2 separate regions of the Homo sapiens genome follow, and region 2 is linked to region 1. The links are contacts of gene promoters, found by promoter capture Hi-C in blood cells and fetal thymus (Javierre and others, 2016). All regions are on one chromosome and are shown on one strand. The core of a region is centred on a gene start or on the middle of the fragment in contact, and the rest is flanking DNA. Distances in the headings are between cores, read along the strand shown. Region 1 holds the start of RRAGB (Ras related GTP binding B). Region 2 holds the start of TSR2 (TSR2 ribosome maturation factor).

What was found. The method cuts DNA at HindIII sites, captures the fragments that hold promoters and counts their contacts. A CHiCAGO score of 5 or more calls a contact.
Region 2: the fragment with the promoter of TSR2 here is called in contact with the fragment with the promoter of RRAGB in region 1 in 1 of 17 cell types (fetal thymus); the score reaches 6.5 in fetal thymus.

What each region holds. Positions count from the first base shown.
Region 1 is chrX:55,716,169-55,722,832 of GRCh38, reverse strand. It overlaps RRAGB (Ras related GTP binding B), which reads right to left and starts at 5,084. Exons shown (of 10, transcript NM_006064.5): 1 at 4,414-5,084; 2 at 3,486-3,519; 3 at 548-647. The coding sequence starts at 4,505. RefSeq lists enhancers at 4,466-4,595, 4,756-4,955. The HindIII fragment of the contact is 6,209 bases long and covers 1,161-6,664 here.
Region 2 is chrX:54,436,119-54,442,776 of GRCh38, reverse strand. TSR2 (TSR2 ribosome maturation factor) reads right to left here and starts at 2,373. Exons shown (of 5, transcript NM_058163.3): 1 at 2,275-2,373; 2 at 1,997-2,087. The coding sequence starts at 2,355. RefSeq lists an enhancer at 2,606-2,655. The HindIII fragment of the contact is 25,574 bases long and covers 885-6,658 here.

The sequences.
Region 1 (6,664 bases), core at 3,835-6,334:
AACACTCAAACTATAAAAGGCAACAACATATTCCCTAAGTCAGAACCAAAACTCTAATGAGATCATCTATGTGTATCCAGGAAAAGAAGTAGCAGAGTACAGATCAAGTTAACTTCTTTCCTTCCCACCACCGTAATTTACCTTTCAACGAAGACAAGGTGTAACTACTGCTTTAAAAAATCTTAGCATATTTTACTGTTATGCTTGTTAATACCTATGGATTTCCCTTTGTATAAGAGTTAAAAACACTCTCCCCACAAGACGAACAAACAATGCTTGTTTAAGAAATAGCAGAATAAACAAAAAGTTGGACAAGGGCAATCCACTTCATAAACAACCTAGAAAGAAAAGAACCTCCCCCAAGACAGCAAGCAGTAGTAACTGGTATTAGGCCACACCTCTTTGAAAACGAATGCAAAAAGGGTAAACATGCTCCATAACAAATTCCCCAACCTCTCTGCATCCCCAAGGTACTGAAACCAAGTGTGTTATGCAGATTATTAATAGTTAAGATCACCTGACTTTACAATAAGATAAAACATCTTACTTGTTGCGCCAAGGCGACGTGTGTCTCTGGCAATATAATTTGCAAAGATAATAGACCTCATGCTGGTCTTACCAGACCCACTTTTACCCATCAACAGCACCTAAGGACAAAGTAGGGAAAAGGAAAGGAAAAAAGTTAGCAATCTAGAGCAAATCAAGTCTAAAGGGATCTATTTCTCTCCTGGATTTGATATTTTCCTGAACTGACAGTACCAACAACCTGGTGCGCATACTCACAACTAACTAAACTCTTCCCAACGAAGGGTGAATGCAGAGATACTTAGAATTCCAGGAGCCAGGTACTTACCTGTCACAGGACATACATCCTTTAGGTGACAGAATTACACTGAATTTATGCTATTAAGATGCACCATTAATATGTTCAGAAACAGGTTAGAAAAATACCAAGTTTAGAGGAAACTAAACCCTGTTCTATCATAACCCAATGTTTTGTTAACTGAATTACCTAGTAGAGGATTGCAACATAACTGAAAGTTCTTCCTCCTTCTGATCAAGGTCAATCTTTCCACCTCTGCCTTTGATCTCATCCCTTCTACTTACCTCTATGCTCTTATTCCATTTATTACTGTCCCTCCTTTTTCTTTTCAAAAGCTTCCCATGGCCTGCAGGATGAAGTCCTTAGACTACATATAAGACCCTCCTTGATCTAGTCTATTTACTTCTCATCCCTCATCTCCTGTCCCTCCTGGCCTGAAACTTTTAGCTTACAGCCACACTTAATTGAACTGCTGGTAGTCCCTCTGATTGTTCCCAGCCGTCTGGGAGGTCCTGCATCTGTGCCATTGTTTCACGCAGTACTCTCTGCCAGTAAACTATCCATTCTCTTTTCTTCCTTCAGCTAAATTGCAGTTATCCTTCAAGACTTGGTTCAGTAATCATTTTTGCAAGAAGATATTCTGAGTCTAATGCTCTAGGCTGACTTAAGTGTCTTACCTCTGTCCTCCCATGGCACTGTTATTTCATTGCAAAGACTATAATGCATTGCAGTTACTTATTTTGGGGGGTCTGTCCTTCTCTCTCAGAAGACTCTGTGCTCTGGAAGGGGAGAGAAAGTCCCCTCATACCTCCAGTGCCTAACATACAACAGATGCTCAAAGTATGTACATCAAAAGAACAAGCAAGTTATCAAAACAAATATAGAAAGCAAGAGAGTATCTGACAGTGAGAACTGTCCAAGGGAAAAGGTAGCCTCATGAAGGTAAGCAGCCTTCCTGTCAATGTCAGCATGTCACACAGAGAGCACTCGTCAATGATGTTCTATACTCTCGTACTAAAAGGGAATTTAGTAAAGTGACTTTTGAGAGTCCTTTCAAATCTAGAATTTATGAAATATAGTTCCAATTACCTTGCTTTCCTTTTCGTTCTTTCTTTTTTATTTTATTTTTTTTGAGACCAAGTCTCACTCTATCATCCAGGCTGGAGGGCTGTGGCATGATCTCAGCTCACTGCAACCTCCGCCTCCCGGGTTCAAGTGATTCTCATGCCTCAGCCACCCCACCTGAGCCCCCCACCTCAGCCATCCCATGCCTGGGATTACAGGCATGCACCATCATGTCCGGCTATTTTTTTTTTTTTTTTGGTATATTTAGTACAGACAGGGTTTTGCCATGTTGGCCAGGCTGATCTTGAACTCCTGGCCTCAAGTGATGCACCTGCCTCAGCCTCCCACAGTGCTGGGATTACAGGCATGAGCCACCGTGCCCAGCCTTAACTTGCTTTTCAAATGAAGGGAACCTATGTTCTACCTTCAATCCCAAGATATTTTATACAAATTTCTAATTACTAATATAAGAAGTATTGATGAAAATATACTACACTCAGACTTGATTTAATCTAAAAATGTAGCTATATAACTTTATCTCACTAAGGAAATGCCACTGCTGAGCCAGTCTAAAGTTGCTACAAAAAGTTTGCTTTTGTACTTTAAAATTTTAATTGAAAAACAATAACTCTTTATATTTAGGAGGTACAATGCAATGTTTGATATATGTATACAATGCAGAATGATTAAATCAAGCTAATTTTTGTTCTTAATCATGTAGAAATTTCTGTACTTTTAGGCATTCTCAATGAAAGCAACTTCAGACAGGCTCATCAAGAACATTCTCTTAGCAAACTGTAGTTACAGAACTGAATTATTAGATGAAGCTAAGGCTAAATATGGTACATTTCCTTCGGTTATTAATTTATACAGTGTACCTCTTTCAATTGCCTATGAAAGACTTACCAAGGCTAATCATGTTAGGTACTGATCTAAGTGTTCTACAGGCATTTACTAATTTAAACGTCACAACAATCTTACGATACAGTTAATATTATTACTACCATTTTACAAATGAGGAAACTGAAGCCCCAAAAGGTTAAGAAATTAGCTTGAGCTGCACTCTTAGCAATTCTGCCTAAACCCCAACGTAGGGCACAGTACTATGAGAGCACAAAGGAAGGTGTGTCCAATTCTATCTGAAGAACTCAATAAGACCTTATAGTGGTAACACTTGAGTTAGGTTAAAAATAAATGTGCAGACAGAGGCCTGTATGGTGTGTGTATATGGCTTACACAAAGTGCAAATTAATTTGTAAATCTGGAGAACAATAAATTCTGTAGGGCTGTGATAGGGTGCATAAGTGTGGCACAGGGTTTGGTCAGGAACAGATTTTAAAGGGCCATGAAATCATTTGGATTTTATTCCATGGGCTTAAAGAAGTTACTAAAGGTTCTTAAGTATGTAGATGACTCAGTCGGATTTTCATATTAGAAAAATTAAATCTGATAGCATACAAGGAGAAGAGAGTCAGACAGACCACACAGAAGGCTCCTGCAATAGTCCAGAAAAGATGGTGTATATATGTCACAAAGTTCCTGAATATCAACTTCTTACCTTTACCTTCATGGTTTTGACGTATCTAACACGTCTTACCTTTTTCTTCATGGCTGTATTTGGTAGCACCCACCTGCAGATATAAACCAAAAAACAGTTTCCATGATCCAATTCCCTTAGAAATTGAAATTAATGAAGTATAAATAAACATGGAGGTACAAAAGAGCATGTTTAGTACAACGGCTGAGTACAGCTGTGTGTGTGGGACCTCAGATGAATAGAGGTCCCATTTTCCTAAATTATAAAACTGTGTGTATACTCTCTATCTCCTAATTAGAAGTTCAAGAGAGAACTCCTAGGAAGATTTATTTAGGAATACAAATGAGCCATTAAAATTCAAGATTCAATTTTTCATCATCTTAATCAAAGCAACACAGCTGCTTTAATCAAACAATATCTTCTATTTCTAAAAAAACAGAATATATTGATATCCTCTACTTGAGGACTGAGTATTGAATATCTTCTATGTATAAAAAACATTCAGCCTCCTAATTTTAAAATCTGGAAGTATCTTTTTAGTCCTTCAGCTGTCCTTCCAAGCCCTATTTCACTCATCACAGACACAAAGTAGATGTAAGTCTCAAATTCAGGTACAAATTGGCACAGAAAACACCCTCAAGCTCTGACCTGGAAATGCAAATCTTCTTTCTAGTCTTTCCATCCCCAACCTGGTGACAGCAAATCTCCTTTACTGATAATTCAAAGCAACTCATAACTGCTTTAATTAGAACACTCCCCCAGCACCACCACCAGGAATATCAGCCCCTTCCCAAGGGTTGTTTCTGATCAGTTAGCACCAATTCGCTTTCCAGTTTATCCTGTCGTCCAAAGCATAATCCCAATCAACATTACTGGTAAATCAAAGCAATTTATCATGGTGCGGGGTGGGGAGAAGTGTTCTAATTCACAATACTCTCTTCAATTTGAACACCCCCACTTCCAGGTTTCACAAATACCCTTCACCCACCCAAGCGATCCTTCCGGTTCCCCTAGTGGTGGATCCATTCTCGGCCCCAGATTTTCTTTCTCCGTCGTTTTCTCAGAGTCAGATTCTTCCATTGCGCAACAAGTCCTTTCCAGTCCCTTCTAAATCTTCAGTACTCTTCAGGGTTTGTTGTTGTTGTTTGTTTGTTTTCTTTTTCACCCCTCAACTGCCTATTCTCATCGCCTATGGCCCTCAGGCCTGCTCTATTCTTGCCTCCGCCTTTGTCCACTGGGGGGCCGCTTTCCCCACGGTTACCTTTATCTCTCGAACCTGGCCTCAAGGCACGGCCGAGCTGGCTAGCTTTAAGGCCAAGTGATTCCGTGGTACAAAGTAAGAGTTGGAGAATGACAGGAAAAGAGAGGTGGGTTAGGGGTTCGTCCCGAGTTTGGGCCTCAGGCCCCCAAGGTCTGGAAACCCAAAGGTAACTTCACCCGCAAAGAGGTGAGGACCGCGAAGGCGGAGGTGGCAGAAAGAGCTGACCCATGCCGTAGGCACTAAGCGGAGAACGCCTCAGCTGGCTCGTGGCTTCCGAGCCCGGCCGCTCGGAGAGTCAGCCGGCGGGGGCAGTAGTTACGACCTAACCACCCGCCCTTCAGGAACCCAGGTATCTCACCGCAGCCACCCAACTGCAGGCCAGGATCACGTGGGCATCTGCCTTACCCCGGAGTCTGTCACGTGACTGCCGCTACCAAAGGGACGGGTGGGCTGGGAAGAATACCATAGAGACAGCTCCAGGAAAGCCAGAGTGCCGTCTGTCATCATCACGTGGCCTTGGCTCAGGCTCCGCCCCTCGGGCGGGGTAGGGCGCTGGGAGCCTTCAGCCTCTCTAATGTGGGTGGGCCTGGCCCCACCCATCCGCTATGGAGAATTAAAGGAGCCGGTTGCAATTTCAGTGCCTCTGAGCTTCTCTTTTTTACTGCTGGTTACCGGTAATGGTTTTTGACTGGGAAGACCGAGCATTGTCTTTGCCTTCCTGCTTTTTATTGTTAATTCTTGCAATCGAGTTTGTAATTAAATGATTAATACATCCAAAGCGCTTAGAACTGTGTCTTCCACATAGCAAATACTGTATAAATTATCGTTATTGCTGAAACCAGGGATTCATCAGGAATTTTAACACACACATTCATCTTCCCACTTGTTTAAAACAGGAAGTGAAGGAAGTACCATAGTAAGAAGTCAATAAATAAAGTCTAGGGCTGGGAGTGGTGGGTCATGCCTTTAATCCCAGCACTTTGGGAGGCTGGGGAGGGAGGATCACTTGAGGCCAGGAGTTCAAGACCAACCTGGCCAACATAGCGAGACCCCATCTGTAAATAAGTGAAGTCTAGAATTGAGAACAGAAAGACTACTGGTAGGGATATGCACACCAGGAAAAATGCCCAGAGGGGTTCAAAGATGTTCCTTCTGGAGAATGGGGTAGGGGATAGGACGTGATATGTCAGGGGACTATTATTTTTTATCTGAAGCCCTTCTGTGCTATATATATTTCTATAATGTATAAATGATATATAATAATAAGATTAATATGACATTTAATTATATTTAATATAATCAACTAATACTTAAATAATATGTTATAAATATGTTATTTTAAATAAATGTGTAGTTTAATTATATTATTTATAATTAATATATGATATACTACATGTATTATTTACACGTAAGTGTGTACATATATTACTTTGATAAGAAAAAAAGGGAAGGAAGGAAGAGAAACTGCAGGAAACAGAGTACTATTATTGAAACTGCCTTTGCAAAAACTGTAACTGAGGAAATTATGACAGTGAAAGAGATCAGACCTCACCGACTCCATCTTACATCTAACCTTTAAGGTGTCCTTGTTCATTCCTGGGCGTAGGCCGAACTAACCTTGGGAAGGAATTTAGTTTATAGTTTAACTCTGATACAAAATTGATAATAGCCCTTTCTCCCTCCCGCTGCCCCCCACTAAAAAAAAACAAAAAAACAAAAAAACCTTCTTACCTGGGAACCAGTCGGCCTTTGCAGGACTAACAAATTAGCCACAAGATTACAAGATTAGAAATTACAATTCAGGGGCCATGCAGCCTCCAGCTGCAAGAGTCTGAACCTCCCCAAATTGCTCCCAGGAATAACATCACTGTTTTAAAACCTAAGATCACTGTTTGATATGTTTTGCAGACCCTGCATTCAGATGCACCAGCTTATGATACAGGAGCGGGGCAGGAAAGTGCTGGGCAGAGAAAGGCGG
Region 2 (6,658 bases), core at 1,124-3,623, 1.3 Mb after region 1:
AGAAGAAATGGACATAGTAATTCCAATGATGAAATCATCATAGCCTTGACACTGACATCCTACTGTGTGACTCTGACTGAGCCACCTTCCTCTCTGGGCTTCAGTTACCTATGGGCCTATGCTCTACTTTTTCTGAATTAGACAGTAACTCAAGAAAGTCTCCCACAAAGCTCCTAGCCCTCTCCCCTCTATGTGCTTTCTCTGGGAGAGCTCATCCACACTCTTGGCTTTCCCTACCACTCAAACTTAATATCCCCCGAATTTATCTCCAACTGAGACTACTCTGTGCCTGGACGTTTCACAGATGCCGCAGATCTTCCATATCTAAAGCCAGACTCATCACCTTACTCTTTAAACCTGCTTCGCATCCTCCAGGGTTCCTCTACTCCGAGAAAAGACACCTAATCCACCCATCAACTCAAACCAGGAACTTGCCTCTTTTTCCCTCCCTGTCTACAGCCAACCAATCTCCAAGGCCCTATTCCACCCCTTCTTTTCCATGCCTGTTGCCACTGTCCTACTTCAGGCCTCATCAGTTTCTAGACAAAAACAGCGTTCTCATCAGTCTTTCCCTCTCCAGGTTATGCTTCATACTGATTATTTCCTGAACTTTCTAGCCAGCAAATCCCATCCTATTTCTCACCCTAGAACCTGCCCACGAATTTTTACCAGCCACTGCAGTGTTTCACAGTTTGCCTTTGAGAAATATCTGTTCTGCTGGGTCTTAAGGGACACTATCCATAGAAAGCTAATGAGAAACAAAAGCAAACAGGTTTTTTAGTGGTTCTTATTCTTACCCAAGCCTTTAATATGTTCATGAGTGTTAAGACTTTTCAGTGGGAGCAGAACAAGAGTTTTTCTTACATAAGGTAACTGGAGAAGCTTCTTCACTGAACATCTAACAGAACTAGTTAGCATGAATTTTGGCAAACACTGGCCTAAATGATAAAATCAAAGGCACATAAGGGCTTCCATGTCTTATGCTTTTCAAGGGGGCTTCCCACACCCCAGCTTCATTCTCTACCACTCCTCCACCCCCCACGCACACACGCCCATACTCCAATACTGAGCTCCCTGCTACTTTCCAAATATAACACATTATACCCTCATGCCACAGAACTTGAGTGTTGCTCTCTCTGCTTCCCCCACCTAGTTAACTCCTTCTCACTAAGACCCAGCCCAATTCACCACCTCCACTAAGAAGCTGTCTCCCCATCCTGTTACCCCATGCACCCTGAGCTCCTCTTTATCAGAAAATCTATCAATGTTGTAACTATTTACGTGTGTGGATCCTCAATGGATAGTATACTTTCTTGAGAGAGATGACTCTGCCTAATGTCATCTCCAAAGCTAGAAATTGAATGAAGATTTTTTTAAAAACCATACTATGCAACAGGCCCTCTACTGGGCCTCTTGTTCTTGTATATCCCTCAAGACGAGCCTACAGTGTAGATCTTTGCTGTCCAAACAGCCACAGGTGGTTACTGAGCACTTGAAATATGGCTAGGCCAAATCGAAATGTGCTAAAACTGTAAAATACCAGATTTTGAAAACTTAATACTAAAAAATGTAAAATATCTCAATGTTTTATACTGACTACATGTTGAAATATTTCATACACACCGAGTTTACTAACATTGATTTCATCTGCTTTTTGCTTTATTAAAGTGGCTACTAAAAAATTTTAAATTATATGTGACTAGCATAATATTTCTACTGTACAGCGCTCTGGTGGATACTTTTATACGCATTTTAGAAACTAGGAAACTGAGTCTCAGGGAGGTAAACTGCCTTGTCCAGAGTAATCCCACGAGTCAGTGGTACAGCCCGTAAAGCACTGGAATCCAGGATTCTGATTCTAAAAGCTGAATTCATTCCACCTCACCTTTAGGTACCAATCCACAACTGCTCGAGAGGAAATGCAGGCTCTGCGGGATGGGGCTCCTCCTCTCCACACCCCCACACAGGCGGGTCGCGGCGCCTCACATTCACTCACCATTGCGCATGAAGTAATCCTCCACTGCACCCCCCAGCCACTTGGCCTTCTCCTGGCTGTGCACACCCCCGAAGCCATTCTCCACAGCGATCTGTAAACACAGGTCCAAGCCCACCAAGTCAGCTTGGGAGCAGACCTGGAGTAGCCTGGAGGCCGCTTACGCCGCCCAGCCAACTCCTCTTATGCCGCCTAGCCAAGCCTCAGGCACCTAGCCCAACCAACTCCTGTTCTGCCCCGGGCCCTAACCTTGACCTTGCCCTGGCCCTGGCCCCACTGACCTGCAAGGCCGGCCAGGCCTCCAGGGCCGCGCAGACCCCAGCCCGGAAAAGAGCTCGCGCATCTTCTGCAGCGCCCGCCATTATCCGGCCCCAGTCCACGTGACGTCCCGGCGGCCCAATCCCTCTGTAGCTCGGCCCAGGCAGAACGAGACGCAAGCCGAGCCTGAGAACACAGGATTCTCTTTTCCGCAGACCTGGCAGCAAGACTAGAGCAAAAGAAAAATCTGTCAGAGCGATCGATGACACCACCAGAGTTACTCACTTAAATCAAAGGACACCAGACCTGAAGGACGTGTGGGGCCATGGTTTCCGGATCCGTGGGTACTGCGGAGGAAATATGTGGGGAACTTATTACAGATACAGATTCCAGGCCCTGGGGCAGAGGACTCAGTGAGTATAGCCTTAAAAATCTGCATTTAAAAAAAGCATCCTAACATCTGTATAGAATACTGCAACCAACAACAGTAAAATACAATCAGCTCTCCCTATGGGGGGCAGTCCACGTCCGTGAATTCAACTAACCTCAGATGGAAAATATTCAGGAAAAAATTGCATCTGCATTGAACATGTGTATACTTTTTTTCTTGACATTATTCTCCTAAACAGTACAGTATAACAGCTATATACATAGCATTTACACTTTATTAGGCATTATAAGTAACCTGGAAATTATTTATTTATCTATTTTTTTGAGACCGAGTGTCACTCTGTGGCCCAGGCTGGAGTGCAGTGGCGCCATCTCGGCTGACTGCAACCTCCGTCTCCTGGTTTCAAGCAATTCTCGTGCCTCAGCCTCCCGAGTACCTGAGATTACAGGTGCCCACCACCACTCCCAGCTAATTTTTGTGTTTTTAGTAGAGACAGGGTTTCGCCATGTTGCCCAGGCTGGTCTCGAACTCCTGGGTTTAATCCACTTGCCTCAGCCTCCCAAATTGCTGGGATTATAGGCGTGAGTCACATCTGGAAATGATTTAAAGTATACAGTAGAATATTCATAGGTTATACGCAAATACTATGCCATTTTATATCAGGGACTTGAGCATCTATGAATTTTGGTATCCTCCGGAGGTCGTGGAACCAGTCTCCCACGGATACCCAGGGATAACTGTACATGTTTTTCTGAAGTACACAAGAACATTCTCCAGAACAGATCATACACTAGGCCATACAGTAGGCCTCCATAGATTTAACAGGATTGAACATACAAAGTATGTTGTCTGACCACAATGGAAAGAAGTTAAAAATCAGTAAAAAGAAACTTACAAAATTCACAAATATATGGAAATTAACACACTCCTAAGCAATAAATGGGTCAAAGAAAAAAATCACAAAGCAAATTAGAAAACACTTTTAAATGAATGAAAACAAAAACATAAAAAAATGCATGAGATGCAGCTAAAGCAAAACTTAGAGGGAAATCTTTAGCTGTAAACATGCATATCTAAAAAGAAGAGCCGGACATGGTGGCTCATGCCTGTAATCATAGCACTTTGGGAGGTTGATGCGGGAGGATGGCTTGAGCTCAGGAGTTCAAGACCAGCCTGGGCAACATAGTGAGACCCCATCTCTAAAAACAATTTTAAAAATTAGGCCAGGTGTGGTGGCTCACGCTTGTAATCACAGCACTTTGGGAGGCCAAGGCAGGCAGATCACTTGAGGTCAGGAGTTCGAGACCAGCCTGGCCAAGATGGTGAAACCCCGTCTCTACTAAAAATACAAAAATTAGCCAGGTCTGGTGGCAAGCACCTGTAATCCCAGCTACTTGGGAGGCTGAGGCAGGAGAATGGCTTGAACCCGGGAGGCGGAGGTTACAGTGAGCCGAGATGGTGCCATTGCACTCCAGCCTGGGAAACAGAGTGAGACTCTGTCTCAAACTAAATAAATAAATAAATTTGAAAACTAGGCCAGGCATGGTGGCTCACACCTATAATTCCCGCACTTTGGGTGGGCAGATCACCTGAGGTCAGGAGTTTGAGACCAGCATGGTCAATATGAACAAACCCTGTCTCTACTAAAAATGCAAAAGTTAGCCAGGCATGGTGACACACACCTGTAATCCCAGCTACTTGGGAGGCTGAAGCACGAGAATCGCTTGAACCCGGTAGGCAGAGGTTGCAGTGAGCTGAGATCACTCCACTGCACTCCAGCCTGGGCGACACAGTGAGACTCTGTCTCAAACAAACAAACGAACAAACAAAATTAGATGGGCATAGTGGCATATGCGTGTAGTACCAGCCACTCAGGAGGCTGAGGTGGGAGGATTGCTTGAGCCTGGGAGCTCAAGGCTGCAGTGAGCCGTGATTGTGCCACTGCACTCCAGCATGGGGGACAGAGCAAGACCCTGTCTCAAAAAAATAAAAAATGAAAGAATGATATCAAATTAATAACCTACACTTCCACTTCACAAAACCAGAAAAAGAAGAGCAAAGTAATCCCAAGGCAAGCATAAGAAAGGAAATAATAAATAATAGAACAGAAATAAATGAAATAGAGAATTGAAAAACAATAGAGAAAAGAAAAAACAGTGAAGCCAAAAGTCAGTTGTTGTTTTTTGTTTGTTTGTTTGTTTGTTTTGAGATGGAGTCTGGTGCTGTCACCCAGGCTGAAGTGCAGTGGTGCAATCTCAGCTCACTACAACCTCTGCCTCCCAGGTTCAAAGGAGTCTCCTGCCTCAGCCTCCAGAGTAGCTGGGATTACAGGCATATGCCACCATGCCCCGTTAATTTTTGTATTTTTAGTAGAGACAGGGTTTCACCATGTTGGCCAGGCTGGTCTTGAACTCCTGACCTCAAGTGAGCTGCCCACCTCAGCCTTCCCAAGTGTTTGGATTACAGGCGTGAGCCACCGGACCTGGGCGGTTATTTTTTTTTCAGAGATGAAGTCTTTTTTTGTTGCCCAGGCTGGAATGCAGTGGCACAAACATTGCTCACTGCAGCCTCAAACTCCTGGGCTCAAAGGATCCTCCTGCCTCTGCCTCCTGATTAGCTGGGACTACAGGAATAGGCCACCATGCCTGGCTAGTGTGTGTGTGTGTGTGTGTGTGTGGTTGTGTGTGTGTGTGTGTGTGTGTGTGTGTGTGTGTGTGTGTGTGTTGGGAGGGGGTGTCTCACTTTGTTGCCCAGGCTGGTCTTGAACTCCTGGTTTCAAGCGATCCACCTGCCTCGCCTCTCAAAATGCTGGGATTACAGGTGTGAGCAAATGCAACTGGCCAAGTCAGTTATTTGAAAAGATCAACAAAATTTACAAACCCTTAGCTAGACTGAGGAAGAAATAAAAGAAAGAAGACTCAAATTACTGAAATCAGGAACGAAAGAGGACGTATAATTACCGACCAGTCAAAAAAGACCACATATTGTATGATACCATTTATATGAAATATACAGAATAGGTAAATCTATAGAGACAGAAAATACATGAATGGTTGCCCAGGGCTTGGATGGGGAAAGAATAGAGTGTGACTTCTAAATGGCTTCAGGGCTACTTTTGGGGGTGTCGAAAATGTTCTAAAAATTAGACGAGGTAATGGTTGCTGTTATGAGCTAAATTGTATCCACCACCCCCCAAATTCATATGTAGAAACCCTAACCCCCAGTACCTCAGAATGTGACTGTATTGGGAGATAGAGCCTTTAAAAAGGTAATTAAGATAAAATGAGGTTGCATGGGTGGGCCCTAATCCGTTATGACTGATGTCCTTATAAAGAAGGGGAGATTAGAACTCGGTGCAATGGCTCAGATCACTTGAGGCCAGGAGTTCGAGACCATCCTGGGCAACAAAGCAAGACCCCCCATCTCTACAAAAAAATTTTTTTTTTAATTAGCTGAGTGTGATGGCTGTAGTCCCAGCTACTCAGGAGACTGAGGAGGGAGGATCACTTGAGTCCAGGAGGTTGAGGCTGCCGTGAGCCATGATTGTACCACTGCACTCCAGCATGAGTGACAGAACAAGCCCTGTCTCAAAAACAAAAAACAACAAAATATAATAATAAGAGGAGATGAGGACACAGGCAAAGAGGGACACCAGAGAGGTGTACACACAGGGACAACTATGTGAACACACAGTGAGAAAGCTAAGGAGAAAGCCAAGGAGCAAATCAGAAGAAACTATACTAAAAGCCATTGAATTGTACACTTTACTTATTTGTTGATTTATTGATGAAAGTATTTCCTTAAAATTAGAAATCTAATTTACAAATTACAAATTTTTAAAAACTGACAAATGTCACAAACATCTTCTAACCCAGAAAAATAAAATATTACTTTGTTGTTTTGTTTTTGTTTTGTAGATGCAAGGTTTCACCATGTTGGCCAGGCTGGTCTCAAACTCCTGACCTCAGGTGAGCCGCCTGCCTCAGCATCCCAAAGTGCTGGGATTACAGGCATGA